Regions from separate parts of the Homo sapiens genome. Here all the other regions are linked to region 1. Evidence: promoter capture Hi-C in 16 types of primary human blood cells and fetal thymus (Javierre and others, 2016). All regions are on one chromosome and are shown on one strand. Each heading gives the region's core, a stretch centred on a gene start or on the middle of the fragment in contact. The rest is flanking DNA. Distances are from core to core; before and after follow the strand shown. Region 1 holds the start of BZW1 (basic leucine zipper and W2 domains 1). Region 2 overlaps SGO2 (shugoshin 2). Region 3 overlaps CASP8 (caspase 8). Region 4 overlaps CASP10 (caspase 10). Region 5 has its middle 35 kb from the start of CASP8. Region 6 overlaps CASP10 (caspase 10).

Region 1 (2,700 bases), core at 180-2,679:
TGGATTTAACAAATATTTGCTTAATGATTCAGTAGATGATCTTGGAACTCTTTTAAGTGGAGTAAATGTTAAATCCTTGAGAATGTATGAGACTGCCATAGAAGAAAGTATCCAGAAAGAAAAGGTATCAGTACAGAAAAGAAGAGTCAGAAAATACCGTGCAAAGGCACATTCAGAACGTAACCAGGATAGCTGGAGCCAGGATTCAAGGAGAGAGGTAGGTAACATTCAATGCTCAGAGGAGGCAAACAGGGTGAAGAATAAAACACTGGGTTTGGCAATAATTTCAGGAACGAACGCTGAGAAAGTCATTTTTCCATGAAGTTGCGGGGGGGTGGGGTAGAGGTCAGATAGTTAATTAGGGAAAAGAAGTCAACAAACTATTTTATCAAAAGGTTTAGGGAAGAGAAGCCACTCTCCTCCTACCAGAGAGTGAGGAAGCAACTGGAGAGAAGTAAACTACTGTACAGTGAATAAAAACATGGGGCTACATCCTAGAGGCGCTGTGCATCTTTATCTGCACAGAGTTTTGTCACGTCCACAGTGCTTTTCACACGCACTATCTAATCTGATCGTACCCCAGCTCCCTGATGATATAGCCTCTAACTGAGGGGTTCTCAAGGTGCGGACCAGCAGCAGCATCACAGATAACTTGTTGGAAATGCACATTCATGGGTTCCACACCAGGCCTACAGAATGAGAAACTACGGGTGGGGCCCAGCAGTCTGTTATAACAAGTCCTCCAAGGGATTCTGATGCTCTCCAAGTCCCCATAGCCACCACACTCGGGAGACAACCGCTGCAGCGCGCAGGGACCGCGGTTGGAGGACAGAATTTCCCCTTCTCAATCTTCGGCCTGTGTCCTCTTCGCTCTTAAGGGAGGTAGTGAACAATGAGACAGCCCCTCAGAGAAAAGTCGCCAGGCAGGGGACTCAGCTGGAGCGAACTCCGCCCATCCCGGCCAGGGCGGAGGCGAGGTGCGGATTCCTTCCCCAAACCACGCCCCCATGCCCGCCCCCAGCCTCCGCCCCCGCACGACCCGAGGGCCCCCCGCCCTCGGGCTTCGACTTCCGGTGCTGGAGGAGGGGGCCGGCGGCGAGGGACTCCAGGAGGACGCGTCCAACTTCGAGACCGGCGGGGGCCGGCTCCGCTCTTCCAACCCCTCCATGTGTGAAGAGGGCGGACGACGCAGCGGGGGAAGAAAAATAAGCTAGTCTAGGACAAGTGTCCAGGCGACGTGGAACCCAGTAAGGGAATAAAGAAGACTGGAAACGTCTCTCCCCTCCCCTATCCCAGTCCCTCACCCTAATCCGCGCGCAATAGAAAAGGCGGAAGCGCCTGTCCACGATCAGGGCGGGGCAAGGGGAAGAAATCTCGCGATAGGAGAGCGGTCCGGGCGGGGGTGGCACCTCTCCCTCCTCCTGGCGTTAGTTCCGGTCGCAGAGGAGACACCGCCGCAGTTGCCGGTACATCGGGGATTTCTGGCTCTTTCCTCTTCGCCTTAAATTCGGTGAGACGCGGCGCCCCGCTCACCCCGGGCGGACGCTGCGGGTCGTGGACGCCGGGCAGAGGGAGAGGGAGGCGGCGGGCTGGATGCGGCCCGGCTTGGATGGGCCCGAACGGAGGTCGCCTCTTGAGGCCGGGCCGGATCTAGGGCCTGAAAGGCCGCCGCTTCGGCAGGGAGGCCGAGGGGTAGCGGCGGCCCGGGTGGGGAGGTGGGGTCCGGGTGTGCGCCGCGGCGCTGGCTGCGAAGGCAGTGGCCGAGGCGGGCTCCCTCTGGGCCGTGCCCGGCCTGGCTAACAAAGCCGCCGCGGCCTCTGTTGTGTGATGTACGCGTGGGGGCTTCCGGCGGGCGGGGCGGAGGGGCTGCCACCCACCACCGCTGCGGCCGCCGCCTCCGCCGCTGCTTTCGCTGGAGGGCGGGCGGATGTACGGGGCGCCTGGGGCCCCGGCGCAAAGCGCCTCAGTGACTGTGGTCCGCTCGTTGCGGCGGCCGCCACCGCAGGCGACAGGGTCAGTGGAGAAAGAGCCGCGGGACCCTACGGCGCCCCGCTGTGGCCGATGGGGTCCTGGGCGGGAAGCGGGTGATCTGTGGCTCGGGCGGGAGGCATGGGAAGGGTGTGGATTGGGAGACACGTTACCGGGGAGGAGGCTAGGACTGTGGGATATGGGCGAAGGAGGCTGGGCTGGCTGTTAGTTTTGCAGGCCTGAGTGGTGCAAGGCGGCCGCTGTTGCGGTCACAGGCATGACCTAGGGTAGGATGGTGCTGCCCGTAACCAGGCTTGTCAGAAGAAGGGGTTCACCTTTTGACAGTGTTTTAGAATTGGCATACACATTTTGGATGCCTGCTGACTATGGTGATAATCTCTCTTTGCGTTCTGCGATGCTTAGTGGTCGTGGAAGATGTAAGTGAATGTAAAGAGGAATGTGGAGAAAACTGAACAATTAGGTTTATGACGGGTGATCACTGTAGCACTACAATGTCGCTTAAAAGTAGTTCACAGCACTAATTTGAAGGGTTTCTTGTAGAGAGAAATGCACATTTTGACGTACATTTGATTCAAGTGCAGGTAATTCTTTGTGCCTGTATCGGGTATAATTGCCAGCTTTATATCCTGAGAGTGGGTGTTCCATTTGATTCATATGTGACTAGACTAAGGTTTGATGTTTTGCTTTAAAAATTAGTATTATGGCACTGAT
Region 2 (2,700 bases), core at 201-2,700, 280 kb before region 1:
GACACAGTTGAATTTTCAGCAGTGAGGCTGCAGTGACCCAAGACAGCTACTTTCTACAGCGCAGAAAAAAACTACCAACATGACTTTTCTGGAACAGATGTAGTAAGAGTAGCAGGTTGTTCTGGCATGTTGTGGCAACTGGATGATGGGTAGCCTTGAGGAGGTGGGCTCACACTGGGTGCTTATATATACGTGTGTATATATATAATGTATATGTGTGTGTGTGTGTGTGTGTGTGTGTGTATACATGTGACTTTATATAGGCAATCTTATGAAGACACTGAGCACTTTGGAAATGGAATTTCATGAATTCTGGAGTTAAGGCATCAGAAGGGCAAAAAAAAAAGGAGGTGGGAAAACTCCCCAAGATAAATTTTCATTACTTCTGAAAATTATCTCAGTGTTCATACCCATCTTAGCAGGAGTTGGGGAGGTATCCTTTTAGTCACATTATCTGCTGATATAGCTCCTGCGAAGGACAATCACGTGTGCCTTCTAAAACAACCCAGCCTCCTGGGTGCCTGTAAATCATGATGCAGCTCCCACCTAGGTCTCTAGGGCCACTCCTTACACTGGCTCTTGCTTACTCCCTTTGGCAAGACTATTCCACACCCCCTGTTATGAAGGAATATGCTGACTTTGAGGAGTACAACAGGAAAATGTTATTACTCTTTATCTTCTGGAAATCCTAAGCTTGTTGTAGTCAGTTTCCATTTGCTATGCCAAGAATGGCTATCCAAAACTACTCTCTCTGTGCCAAAGGTAAAGTACTGTTTTGGACTCTGTTTTGCAGAATCCCAAGTTTTCCCTGAGTACTTATAAAATGTTATTAAATTTTATAAAACTTATTTCACATACACTAGACTTTTATTCAGTGGCATATGTTATTGAATAGTGAAATGTAAGTTAAAATTATGAAAATATAATGATATTTTAAATGTACTAAGGGAACACACTATATTTATGGTAAGCTTTACCAGGGAATTCACAATGAAATTTCTTTGCTTCCAACAGAAAAGCAATTTCAGGCGTGATTTAAATCATATTTACATAGTGCTTTTAAAGAGGAGTCGAGTTTAGATTGCAGTAGATGCCTAGAAATAAGAGGTAGAATCTTTTAGATGGCAGTAAAAGGTCCCGTGGGGTTTAGATTATCTATCTAACATTAGAGAAAGTATGGCTCTATCACTCAAAGTTTAAAAATGGGCGTTGGGAGTATTAAGTAATTTGTTCAGTTCTGGAGCTGTAGAAGCTGGCTTTAGAATTTTCCCAGATTGGCTACCCTCATTCCTATGGGACATTTCCAGTTAGAGCTGCAGAATCAGTTTCTCCATTCTGTCTGCTAGTCAAAGGTAGGAAATTAGGTAGAGCAGCAAGTATCAAGATTTAATTTTTGTGACTGATCTAATTATGTAGAATGCTATGTCTGTGCTGCAGTCCTCTTACTCCTTTTTTATACATATTCTGCATTCCTCACAACTCTTGAATTCTTCATCTTCTGTCTAGCTTTCATTTCCTCACCTCTAAACTCTGGGTTTATTTTTCTCAAAACTACATCTGTATTGTTATTCCCTTTTCTAATCTTCAGTTAAAACTTGTGAAATGCATTTTGTCTATGTTTTACTAAGGAATATAAAAATTTCTTAAGGTATAAGCTGAATATTAACTCATTTTAAAAATCTTTTTACAGATAATTCTTCTATTTTCAAAATATCTTTAAAGCACAACAACAGGGCATTAGCTCAGGCTCTTAGTAGAGAAAAAGAGAATTCTCGAAGAATTACAACTGAAAAGATGCTATTGCAAAAAGAAGTAGAGAAACTGAATTTTGAGAACACATTTCTTCGCCTAAAGCTAAATAACTTGGTATGTAAGCTATATTGTTTTTGAATTCTAATTATAACTTAAATCTTTTAGCTGCATTATTATAGAAGCTTTAAAAATATTTTTCAAATCTCCAATAGTGAAAAATTATTGAAAGTCAGTATACCATGTAAGTCTATGTCAAAGTACAAACTGTTAATGGGTAATAAAATATGTGTTTTAAATCTACATTCTAAATGTGTGCTTGTGTGCTGTGTAAACCAGTATAATACTTTGACCAACATTCGATTGCTAATCATAAACAAAGCTTGGTACATTAATACATTTTTAAAAGATGGTCATAGTTCTTCCGGTGTTCTTGAAAGGAAAGGAATTCCCAGAATGTTGTTATTCTTTTTTAATCTCAGCATTTACCTGGCTACAAGCTAAACAGAATGAGAATTATAGTTGTTTCTTTTCCTTCCAAATTTCAACTCTGTTCACAGACAGGACAGTGAGAGCCAATGATTAGCTAGGCTGCAACTATAGATCTAAATCTAAAATGAGTAGAACTTTTTATAATGGAAAAAGGACCTACTCTACTTGTGGGTTTAATTCCGGTGGCTGACAAACTGTTCTCTTGCCATGTGATATATTACTATGAGAAGATAGAAAAATGTTTATAGGAAAACAAAATTGTTCTAAAGTATTCAACATATGTGTGTGTGTGTGTATACATGTATGTATGTATGATATGTATGACTATTTGGACTATATAATACTATTTGGTACTATATAATATACCATTTTAGCTGAATGTGATCTCAATTTTTAGCTCAATATGATATCAACTATTTTTTAAGTTTTCTCACATGGATGGCATTCATAAATGCCTGA
Region 3 (2,700 bases), core at 48-2,547, 470 kb after region 1:
ACCATTGAGAGATTAATAATTTTGATTTGATCAAAGAACTTTTGGAAATAGTGTTTATCAGGCATAACATCAATTATTGATTTGTTTTGCAAATGGAGGTAAGTTTAGAAAATTAATGTAGACTGATTATAATCATCAGGAGTCTGTAATGGCCCCTATTAACATTTTTTTTTTTTTTTTGAGACAAAGTCTCACTCTGTTGCCCAGGCTGGAGTGCAGTGGTGTGATCTCAGCTCACTGCAGCCTCCACCTCCCTGGTTCAAGTGATTCTCCTGCCTCAGCCTCCCAAGTAGCTGGGACTACAGGCACACACCACCACACATGGCTAATTTTTGTATTTTTAGTAGAGATGGGGTTTTGCCATATTGGCCAGGCTGGTCTTGAACTCCTGACCTCAAGTGATCCGCCTGCCTCGGCCTCCCAAAGTGCTGGAATTACAGGTGTCAGCCACCTGTACCTGGTCCCTGCTAACATTTGATTTGTTTATTTAAGCAAATCTAAGCCTTTAAAAAGGCACAGAGATTAAGTCCATTGATTACATCATTCGTCACTATGCGCTTGGTATTGAAAAAAATATTTTGGACCCTTGATTTGTATTCTTTTAAAATTAAAACATTTCTATTAAAATAACATTTGCTTCTATTTCTGGCAGCTCATTTTCTTATAACTGGCCCATGATTGACTAGTCTCTGGTAGGCATTCGAGTCTGTGTGTCCTGCTTTTTCTGTTCCTGTTCTTATGTTTTATGCTGAATGAGTAAAAGTAGGAGACCCAGCTGCAGAAGTCATTTCTCCTGAGAGACTCCCTTCTGTCCTGCTTCAGTGCCTTCAGACTTGCTTTACAGTCATTTTTTTAATCAACATTCCACATTTCCAAAGGATCAGAATTTTTTTCACAGAACCAACACACTGTATTAGTCTTGCCAAAGTGCTTCCAAATCAACAAGGGCCTATTGCATTTCAGTTATTTTTTTCTATTCCTAATGCTAGACTGTATTTTTTCTTTTTTTTTTTTTTGAGGCAGAGTCTCACTCTGTTGCCCAGGCTGCAGTGCAATAACATGATCTTGGCTCACCGCAACCTCTGCCTCCCAGGTTCAAGTGATTCTCCTGCCTCAGCCTCCCAAGTAGCTGGGATTACAGGCATGTGCCACCATACCCAGTTAATTGTATTTAGTAGAGATGGGGTTTCACCATGTTGGTCAGGCTGTTCTTGAACTCCTGACCTCAGGTGATCCACTCGCCTCGGCCTACCAAAGTGCTGGGATTACAGGTGTGAGCCACTGCACCTGGCTGAGACTGCCTTTTGACTGATGACTTATGTTTAGCTCTGATGTGCTGACAGGGACAAAATGCTGGAGAAGGAATAAAAAAGGAATAATCCAACAAGGATCAAGAGAACAGGAAAGGAGACAATAGCTAATGAAAGGTTTCCAACAATTTGGGGGAGTTGAAAAAAAAGAGTCGAGGTAATTGACTTAACAGAGAAAGCTACAACCTCACTGATTACAGAGGGGAACACGGAAAGGAGGCAAGCCTATTTACCCCCACAGAATCCTGGAAAAATTCAGCAATTGGAAGTACAAAGTGTAGGTGAGGCAATGAGCAGAAAACAGGAAGATTCTTTGAAAGCCTATATAAGCCTATACAATCCTCTGATTCATACCTTCCTCTCATAGAGCCAGCAACTATTCTTATTCTACCATCATAAGGAACAGGAAGTTTGTTTTCTCATAAAATTGAACCAGAGAGGCTCTACACTTCGGTGTGCCAGGCCCAGCAAAGGAAGCAATGAAGCATTTTACTGAACACAGAGAGACTGAAGAAAACCTGCTGGTGGCATGGAGTCAGATCTCTAAACCAACTTGGTTCCAAGACACTGGCAGCAGATACAGACTTACCTCTGGAGAAGCTGAAAGCTCTAGCTAAAATACATACAGATAATGACATCTGGAGGTTTCCTAATGAAATGATCAGGTCCCCAACCAATCATCTTGCTATGAAATCCCTCAGAGAACAAGCCACATCCACAAACACAGAGCTTTCAGTCGACTTTTTAATGGACTAATTAGTCAATTTATGAATGGACAACCAAAGGTCAGCAGGCATTTGAAGAAAGGCTCTAATACGAAAGAGAGGTAGCTTGGTACGGTGGCGTGAAAATCCAGCACTTTGGGAGGCCGAGGCAGGCGAATCGCCTGAGGTCAGGAGTTCAAGCCCAGCCTGACCAACATGGTGAAACCCCATCTCTACTAAAAATACAAAAATTAGCCAGGCATGGTGGCAGGTGCCTGTAACCCCAGCTACTACAGAGGCTGAGGCAGAAGAATCACTTGAACCTGGGAGGTGGAAGTTGCAGTGAGCTGAGATCGTACCACTGCACTCCAGCCTGGGTGACAGAGCAAGACTCCATCTCAAATAAATAAATAAATTACTAGATAAATGAGAGGCAATGCAAACAACAAGAAAAACATGAAACAGAATATGAATGAAAAAAAGATAATGTTGAGAAAAAAGCAACCTTTTTTAATGCTTAATATTGGTATTTAGTATTCTTAGAGAGTTAGTTAAAGGTCCATGAAAGAACAAGATGTTATGAAAAAGGGACAGAACAAGCAAGTCTCCTTGAAAATTAAAAATTTGAGCACCAAAATGAAAAATTCAATAAAGTAGAAGATAAAGTCTAAGGAAGTAGGATAAAA
Region 4 (2,700 bases), core at 48-2,547, 390 kb after region 1:
GCTCAATGAGAAGGAACTCTCATCGAATTTTAAGCAACATCTCCTAATATGTTTAAAAATTAAATTTATTTTTTTCTCAGCCCCCTGCAACTTCAGCCTCCCAGGTTCAAGTGATTTTCCTGCCTCAGCCTCCTGAGTAGCTGGGATTACAGGCACGTGCCACCGCACCCAGCAAATTTTTTGTATTTTTAGTAGAGATGGGGTTTCGCCATGTTGGCCAGGCTGGTCTCGAACTCCTGACCTCAGGTGATCCACCTGCTTCAGCTCCCAAAGTGCTGGGATTACAGGCGTGAGCCACCGTACCCGGCCAAATCGATTTTTTTGAGTGTGGCATAAGGTTTTCTTAAGGAGAGGCATGTCTCTCTATGGAGGAGACCTAACACCTGCTTCTTTATAAGGCCTTATTGGACCCCTCTTGAAAACTATCAAAAGAAGTTGAAAGATGATTCAGTGTGGCCAGGCTGTGGGACATTCACTCATTCATTCATTCATTCCTCTCTGACATAGAGACTTGAGAGGTGTCAACAGAGGATGCAACATTCTCGGGAGAAGAAAGGCAGATTAGACCTTAAAGCTTTTTTCTAGTCCCTGTTCTGGCTGACTTTATCAGCCAAGGGAAGAACAAATCAAGGAAAGCCAGGGCCTGGAGGGGCTGGGCAGAGCCTGCTGCTGTGTCTGCATTGCCCCTAATCCCAGAAGACTCACTCAACTGCTGGACAAAACCAGAAGGCAGTCTGGCCAGGCCCTTGTCTGCCTCTTAGAAGAAATCTAGGATTCTACAGGAAGGGAACAGTGGCTTATGAAAAGAAAGGCAGGAAGCCTTTTGGAAAGTGAAGCTAAGCCTCCTTTGCATTTGTTCCTGCAGAGCTGGGGGAACAGCTCTTCCCCAACACCTTGGTCAGGTCCCCTTGGGGGCTTTCTGCTGAAGGCTGACGGCTGAGAGTCATAGGGGGAAGGGGGTGATGGTGAATGGGGAGGAGGGTACAGAAAAGACAGGGTCTTAGACTTTGTTTTAATTTTGTATTTAATTATATAAAACATTAATGTATGCCCAAGGTAGTGCATCCTTGCCTCTCCTCCCCACCTCGATTGCCATTTTTATTTGTTTTTTGATTTATCTTATTACTTTTGAAAAAAATCCAACGTATATCTTCCCTTTATTACAAAAGAGGTAGTGCACTCAAATACCATTTCATTTTGCTTTCTCCATATGACAGCATCCCCTGGAGAAGGGTATAGAGGCTGTCCTTGGCATCTTACTCCACTATGTGGACATACCACAGCTTTTTCAATCACTTCCTATTGGTGGACATTAGGCTATTTCCAGTCCTTAGTGTAAATAATGCTGCAATGAGTAAGTACCCTTGAGCATATGTCACACTGTATTTTTGCCAGTGCGTCTTTGTGAACCTTCTCCTTTGGATGGAGAGAGTTGGTTCTCTTCCCATTTCCTGCCAATGAACTTTCTTTTTTTTTTTTTTTTGAGACAGAGTCTTGCTCTGTCACCCAGGCTGGAGTGCAGTTGCGCAATCTCGGCCCACTGCAACCTCTGCCTCCCAGGTTCAAGTGATTCTCCTGCCTCAGCCTCCTGAGTAGCTGGGATTACTGGCATGCGCTACCACACCCGGCTAATTTTTTTATTTTTAGTAGAGGTGGGGTTTCACCATGTTAGTCAGGCTGGTCTCGAACTCCTGACCTCAGGTGATCCACCTGCCTTGGCCTCCCAAAGTGCTGGGATTACAGGCATGAGCCACCGCAACCGGCCCAATGACCTTTTCTGTGGCTGTGGATTAGATATCTGTCCTTCCCTGCATCAAGTCTAGTTTTTGTTCCTCATCCTAACTGTGTGAAATTCCTATGTTTCATGCCCTCCTTTCTTTTTTCTCAGCAGGAGTCCTGGCAAAATAAGCATGCAGGTAGTAATGGTAGGTATTTCTAATGTACTTTTTACAACTTAGATCGGTATGGTAGGGATAGACATATTTGATATATACCAAGGAATTCAAGGTGACTTGGAAGAGAAGCTTTATAAATAATGAATAATTCATTTTTTATTCCAATTCAAGGCAAGACATTGAATGCATGGATTGTACTAGGCTTTTCTATGGCAGTATGGAGAGGGCTGGGTGGTTTCTGCTCTGAATGCCTAGTATAGCAGATTCTAGGGACTGCAGGCGGCTGTTCTTCCTCCACCCTTCAGAATTAGGCCACCCTCTGTGCAGCAGAAACAGCCCCCGCAGGGCTGAAGCCTTCAGGCCAGTAGTGACAGCAGAATGTGCAGTCTGGGTGCGTGTCCTCTATGGAGTGGTTCCAGATGTTGCTTCAGAGGGAGAGAAGAAGCAAGAGGAGGGACTTGAGGATGGTGTGTTTAGTTCCCTGAATCCCTGCCCAGAAACCATAACCTTAGGAAAATATTCCAGAATCTGCCATCAGGTTAAACTGCTTATGAACAAACAGGCTTTGGCGAAGTCTTTCTGTGGTATGTAAAGTTTGTCACAGACCATTCCTCATTTTTTTTTCTGGAAAATTATCCTTCAGAGTCCAAGACACACAGCTTTGCTAGCAATTTGTCTTTTTGCCTAACACGGAGGTTGTGTGCTATGATGTTGGTGACATTGACCAGGTCACCATTATTAAGCACTTGTCACATACTAGGCACTGTTCAGAGAGATTTCAGGGATTATATCATTTATTCCTCCA
Region 5 (2,700 bases), core at 136-2,635, 410 kb after region 1:
CTGTGCTCAACTGATCCTCCCACCTGAACCTCCTGAGTGGCAGCTGGGGCTACAGGCAGGTGTTTTTTAAAAATGGAACTCTTTTCTTTTTTTTTTTTTTTGAGACGGAGTCTTGCTATGTTGCCCAGGCTGGAGTGCAGTGGCTCGATCTTGGCTCACTGCAAGCTCTGCCTCCCAGGTTCATGCCATTCTCCTGCCTCAGCCTCCCGAGTAGCTGGGACTATGGGCGCCCGCTACCACGCCCAGCTAATTTTTTATATTTTTAGTAGAGACAGGGTTTCACCATGTTAGCCAGGATGGTCTCAATCTCCTGACCTCGTGATCCGCCCGCCTTGGCCTTCCAAAGTGCTGGGATTACAAGCGTGAGCCACCGTGCCTGGCCAAAAAAAAATGGAACTCTTAATACATTAGAAAAAAAATGAAATCCCTTTTAAAAAGCACTAGAGGAAATTCTGTGTTTAAAGATTTACTTATTTGGCAATGCAAACAACTGTTTATTTCCTAACATAACTTTTGCAAATCTGAATTTTTATGAAAAGATTTTTAAATTAAAAATTTTAAATTGTACTAATTTTTACTTTTTAAGTAATTTTGAGTAGGTAATATTTTTATAAAGATATTTGTATGGTTTGAAGATAAGAAAATTAAAGGTGTTCAAGAAGAGTTTTGCCCCCAGTTCTGTCCACTGTATACCCAGTCCTCCCCACTTCTGCATACATATTTCAGACAGGTATTTCTTGGAAGAAAGAACATATGCTGTGAAACTTACATGTCTCAGTAGGTCTCATTTTAAGTGATTCTGTAAAATGCCTGGGAAATACTGGTGAAATTCTAGAATGGAAATAACTTTGTGAGATTTTGAGCTGAGTACTGGTAAATAGTAGAAATGGACTTACTAATAAATAAGGGAATTTTATTTGATAACTTTTTTCTGATTACATAGTAATGTATGTTCATTATGGAATATTTGGGAAATACAAAAACACACCAAGAAAAAAGTATATTTATTTATAATTCTATTTTGCTATGTATTTTCCCATTATTCACTCTGTGTTTGTCACAGATTTTTCCCCACCCTTTTTCAATGAGTGTATCCTCCATGTCCCCCCAATCATGCATCCAGTAAACTTTGTCATTACTACCATCTGTACTTTCACTCACGTTTCAATTCCAAGCATGTCCCTCTCTGACAACCACCTCCCATCATTCCATCTTGCTTCTTCTAGGACCTTCCCTTCAAGGATCTTCAGTGCCACCAGGGCTTCCAGTTAGGTTGACTGACCCTATCTATTGTCTTCCCGATGTCAGCACCGCCCCTCACTCCCTCTTCATTCAGCTTAGAGTCCATGTGTCTTTGTTAAAGTCTCCTGTACCCACCAACACCCTTGCCTTTCTGTCAGTTCCACTGAGGTGGTAGAATCCCAACTCTGGTTAATCCTATAAATCCTTGTCCTCCAAATTTGTACTGGAATTCCAGGATGTGGCTGGGGTAAAAACCTTCCATGTTGCAGACAGGTCTCGTTTCAAACCAATGACCACAAACCTCCAATGGGCTTTCAGGGGTTTCGGCAATGCTGTGACATTTCCCTGGTTATATCACCCTTTTGCACTCTCGGTCTGTTTTACTAATCATCGAATTCTCTATGATCTCAACCTAAAAGGTTAGAGATATTTCCTGAGAAGCCCCACCTTTTCTCTTGATAACCCACTATGGAGCTGTCATTTGTGAATTTAAGAAGAAACACTTGCCTCTTGACTATTTTAAAACATCAAAAACAACATTTAAAAATTGAAGGATGAGGCCGGGGTGTGGTGGCTCGCGCCTGTAATCCCAGAACTTTGGGAGGCCGAGGCAGGCGGATCACCTGAGGTCAGGAGTTCAAGACCAGCCTGGCCAACTTGGTGAAACCTGTCTGTACTAAAAAAAATTAGCTGGGCATGGTGGCGCACACCTGTGATCCTAGCTACATGGGAGGCTGGGGCATGAGAATTGCTTGACTCTGGCAGGTGGAGGTTGCAGTGAGCCAAGATCATGCCACTGCACTCCAGCCTGGGTGATAGAGTGAGACTCTGTCTCAAAACAAAAACAAAAACAAAACCTGAGGGATGAGCCACAAACTGGGAAATGATATCTGCCACGTTGTATAACTGATAAAGGAGATATATGTACATATACTATATATATAATCTTCTATAAATCCATAAAATATTAAACAATCCAACCTAGATGGGCAAAAATATAAACTAGTTCAAAGATGAGCAAAAAATATGAACCAGTAATTAAAAGGAAATACCAATGAGCAATAAATATATGAAAACATAACCATTCTCTTTGGTCATCAGAGAATTTGAAAAATACAGCCACAGTGAGATAGCATTTTATGTCCATCATATTATCAACATTTAAAACTCTGTCAGTACCAAGTGTGGGTGAAGATACAGAGCAAAGGGAACTCTATTACATCGATCTAGGAAATGTAAATTGACACAATCATTTTAGAGAGCAATTTGCAATATTTATAAATGTTGGAAATTTGCACACAGTAAAATCTAGCAATTCCATTTTTGGATCTATGTCCCAAAATAAACTTAAAAACATTGTTTTGTAGAGACAGGGTCTTGTTATGTTGTGCAGGAAGGTCTTGAACTCCTGGCCTCAAGCAATCTTCCTGCCTCAGCCTCCCAAAGTATTGAAATTAT
Region 6 (2,700 bases), core at 122-2,621, 370 kb after region 1:
AATAAATAGTATTACAATGAAAATTTTATCACTGCATTGCTCCTCTGATTATGATGAAATTTAGTATAGAGAATAGCATAGTTTATAAACTGATCAGATGGAAACATTGACTCATGTAATTTGTTTTTTTTTAGTGAAAACAAGTTTATTAGAGAAGTAAAGAAACAAAAGAATGGCTACTCCATAGACAGAGCAGCCGACTCATGTAATTTTTAACTTCCTACACTGATTTGAGCAACTCTTGTCTAAAACCACCCTTTCCTCCTGAGGTCTAGGATATTTTATTTATTTATTTTTCTTTTTGAAACAGGGTCTCACTCTGTCACCCAGGGTGAAGTGCAGTGGCATGATCATGGCTCACTGCAACCTGTGCTCCCCAGGCTCAAATGATCCTTCCATCCTCGGCCTCCTGAGTAGTTGGGACCACAGGCATGTGCCACCATGCCCTGATAATTTTTTGTATTTTTAGTAGAGACCAGGTCTCGCCATGTTGCTCAGGCTTGAGGTCTAGGATTATGCCTTCCCTTTCTGTAAGATAAAGGCCTGCCCTCTTACAGGTAGCAGTCTGAAGTTAAGATGTAACACACATACCTCACGGTACCTTGCTGTCTTTGGGTTGATAGATCATAAGGATAACCCTGCCTCCCCCAGATTGCTTTGTGTCTAAAACTTAAAGCATAGAGCCAAGTGCTATTTCTGCCACGTGCTGGAAATGAATGTAAGGGCTCCAATCAGGCTACCAGGCTTGAGAAAAATTGTGCTGTGTCCCTCCATCTTAACTTTCTCTCTCTGGGAACATTTTGATTTGGGAGAAATCAAGGTGAATTGAATTCCAATATAAGCACCCTCCAAGTTTCCTAAAAAGTAACTTGCAAGTGTTGGGGAAAAGTTTTCTGGGCTGTTGCTTTTTGAAGTAGCCTCGCCGTAATTTTTATTTTTCAGCACTTCTAGGAAAGTCTAATGCCCAGAACGGAGAAGGTTGTGGTGAGGGGAGGGCCTGGGAAGTCAGGGGGCCATATGTCCTCACTCTCTAACTCCCTGCCCCACCTCTCTGTCCCTTTCAGGCTGGCCATGAAATCTCAAGGTCAACATTGGTATTCCAGTTCAGATAAAAACTGTAAAGTGAGCTTTCGTGAGAAGCTTCTGATTATTGATTCAAACCTGGGGGTCCAAGATGTGGAGAACCTCAAGTTTCTCTGCATAGGATTGGTCCCCAACAAGAAGCTGGAGAAGTCCAGCTCAGCCTCAGATGTTTTTGAACATCTCTTGGCAGAGGATCTGCTGAGTGAGGAAGACCCTTTCTTCCTGGCAGAACTCCTCTATATCATACGGCAGAAGAAGCTGCTGCAGCACCTCAACTGTACCAAAGAGGAAGTGGAGCGACTGCTGCCCACCCGACAAAGGGTTTCTCTGTTTAGGTGAGGACGGGTCTGTGGTGGAGATGGGAGGATCTCCCATCTAGTGTTCATTCTGGCCATTGGGCTTTGAAAGGAAGCTGCAGTTAAGATCTTTTGGTTATCTACCTCCTTGGATGATAAACCAGGAGATTCTAAACCTCCTTCTCAGCCTCTGATGCTAATGAGATAAGAGTTGGGAGGTCAGCAAAGCTTCAAGACCAAGCCCTGGGCCCAGAGGTGGCTTCCCTTTGTTTTGCTTCTCACTAGCAGTGAAGCCCACCTCAGTGTGGCAGAGCCCGTGTTTTCCCTGCTTACCAGCGGCTACACGTGCAGATCTTCTCCCTCCTGGGATCCACTAGTCTGTCTACCTGTTTCCCGGGGTCTTGAGAAGAGAGTAATGCATACTTGGAGTGAAATAAGCAAGATGAAAAAAGAGATGTGTTTCTGGGGTAGGGAGGGATGTCATTTATGCCATGTCTAGTTATAGAAATTTCTATATTTTTGGGTGGGAATCCAGAAAGGTAAAAACAGGCATTTTGCCCAAAGAGGTAAAATTTAGGCATTGGTCTTATCATGGATGACAGCGTTTTATTTTTATTTTGAGACAGAGTCTCGCTCTGTCACTCAGGCTGGAGTGAAGTGGCACCATCTCAGCTCACTGCAACCTCCGCTTCCTGGGTTCGAGCGATTCTCCTGCCTCAGCCTCCTGAGTAGCTGGGACTACAGGCACCCACCACCACACCTGGCTAATTTTTGTATTTTTAGTAGAGACAGGGTTTCCAACATGTTGGCCAGGCTGGTCTGGAACTCCTAGCCTCAAGTGATCCACGCACCTCGGCCTCCCAAAGTGCTGGGATTATAGGTGTGAGCCACTGTGCCAGGCTGATGACAGTGTTTAAAATTGTTCACTGACATAGTGTCCACATCAGAGAACCTCACGAAGAGGAGCCTTTGGAGGGTGTTTTATGGTCTCTGCGATTAGAACACATTAAGCCTTAGCGGTGGAACTGGCTTCCAGAACCTGAGTTGCCCTTGAGTCAGTGGAAGGAATGATGAATTCCAGAAATCCATATTTCCATTCTGCTGGCTAAACATCTGAGGGACAGTCTCTGACACATAGGGGTGTTAGTATGTGGATGAAATCCTCACTGTTTCTGGTTGTGGATTATATCTCGAAGCTGGGGTAGTTTTCTTCCCTTTTCAATATACAACCGACTGTACCTTGGCTGGCCTGGGGTCCTATCTACCAAGGGCCTGTAAAGTAAGCCTGAATTTCTTGATGGAATCAGGAGATGGGAAGGCA

The links. The method cuts DNA at HindIII sites, captures the fragments that hold promoters and counts their contacts. A CHiCAGO score of 5 or more calls a contact.
Region 2: a contact is called between a fragment that was not itself captured here and the fragment with the promoter of BZW1 in region 1, in 2 of 17 cell types (erythroblasts and fetal thymus). The highest score is 5.2, in erythroblasts.
Region 3: a contact is called between a fragment that was not itself captured here and the fragment with the promoter of BZW1 in region 1, in 1 of 17 cell types (neutrophils). The highest score is 10.0, in neutrophils.
Region 4: a contact is called between a fragment that was not itself captured here and the fragment with the promoter of BZW1 in region 1, in 1 of 17 cell types (neutrophils). The highest score is 8.1, in neutrophils.
Region 5: a fragment that was not itself captured here is called in contact with the fragment with the promoter of BZW1 in region 1 in 1 of 17 cell types (neutrophils); the score reaches 6.9 in neutrophils.
Region 6: a fragment that was not itself captured here is called in contact with the fragment with the promoter of BZW1 in region 1 in 1 of 17 cell types (neutrophils); the score reaches 8.0 in neutrophils.

What each region holds. Positions count from the first base shown.
Region 1 is chr2:200,810,481-200,813,180 of GRCh38, forward strand. BZW1 (basic leucine zipper and W2 domains 1) reads left to right here and starts at 1,430. Exons shown (of 12, transcript NM_001207067.2): 1 at 1,430-1,510. BZW1-AS1 (BZW1 antisense RNA 1) reads right to left here and starts at 1,690. Exons shown (of 4, transcript NR_110275.1): 1 at 1,305-1,690. RefSeq lists enhancers at 644-903, 1,752-2,267, 2,268-2,700 and silencers at 954-1,103, 1,634-2,003. The HindIII fragment of the contact is 7,792 bases long and covers 1-2,700 here.
Region 2 is chr2:200,533,306-200,536,005 of GRCh38, forward strand. SGO2 (shugoshin 2) reads left to right here. Exons shown (of 9, transcript NM_152524.6): 3 at 1,691-1,866. Among named protein-coding and RNA genes, the nearest start is that of SGO2, 8.4 kb to the left of the region's middle. The HindIII fragment of the contact is 963 bases long and covers 970-1,932 here.
Region 3 is chr2:201,277,539-201,280,238 of GRCh38, forward strand. All of the region lies in intron 7 of CASP8 (caspase 8), which reads left to right. Among named protein-coding and RNA genes, the nearest start is that of CASP8, 18 kb to the left of the region's middle. The HindIII fragment of the contact is 3,204 bases long and covers 1-2,700 here.
Region 4 is chr2:201,201,842-201,204,541 of GRCh38, forward strand. It overlaps CASP10 (caspase 10), which reads left to right. Exons shown (of 10, transcript NM_032977.4): 6 at 1,889-1,925. Among named protein-coding and RNA genes, the nearest start is that of CASP10, 20 kb to the left of the region's middle. The HindIII fragment of the contact is 1,450 bases long and covers 573-2,022 here.
Region 5 is chr2:201,223,889-201,226,588 of GRCh38, forward strand. It overlaps a transcript of CASP10 not described here. Among named protein-coding and RNA genes, the nearest start is that of CASP8, 35 kb to the right of the region's middle. The HindIII fragment of the contact is 4,030 bases long and covers 1-2,700 here.
Region 6 is chr2:201,184,707-201,187,406 of GRCh38, forward strand. CASP10 (caspase 10) reads left to right here. Exons shown (of 10, transcript NM_032977.4): 2 at 1,065-1,418. The coding sequence starts at 1,072. Among named protein-coding and RNA genes, the nearest start is that of CASP10, 2.9 kb to the left of the region's middle. The HindIII fragment of the contact is 467 bases long and covers 1,139-1,605 here.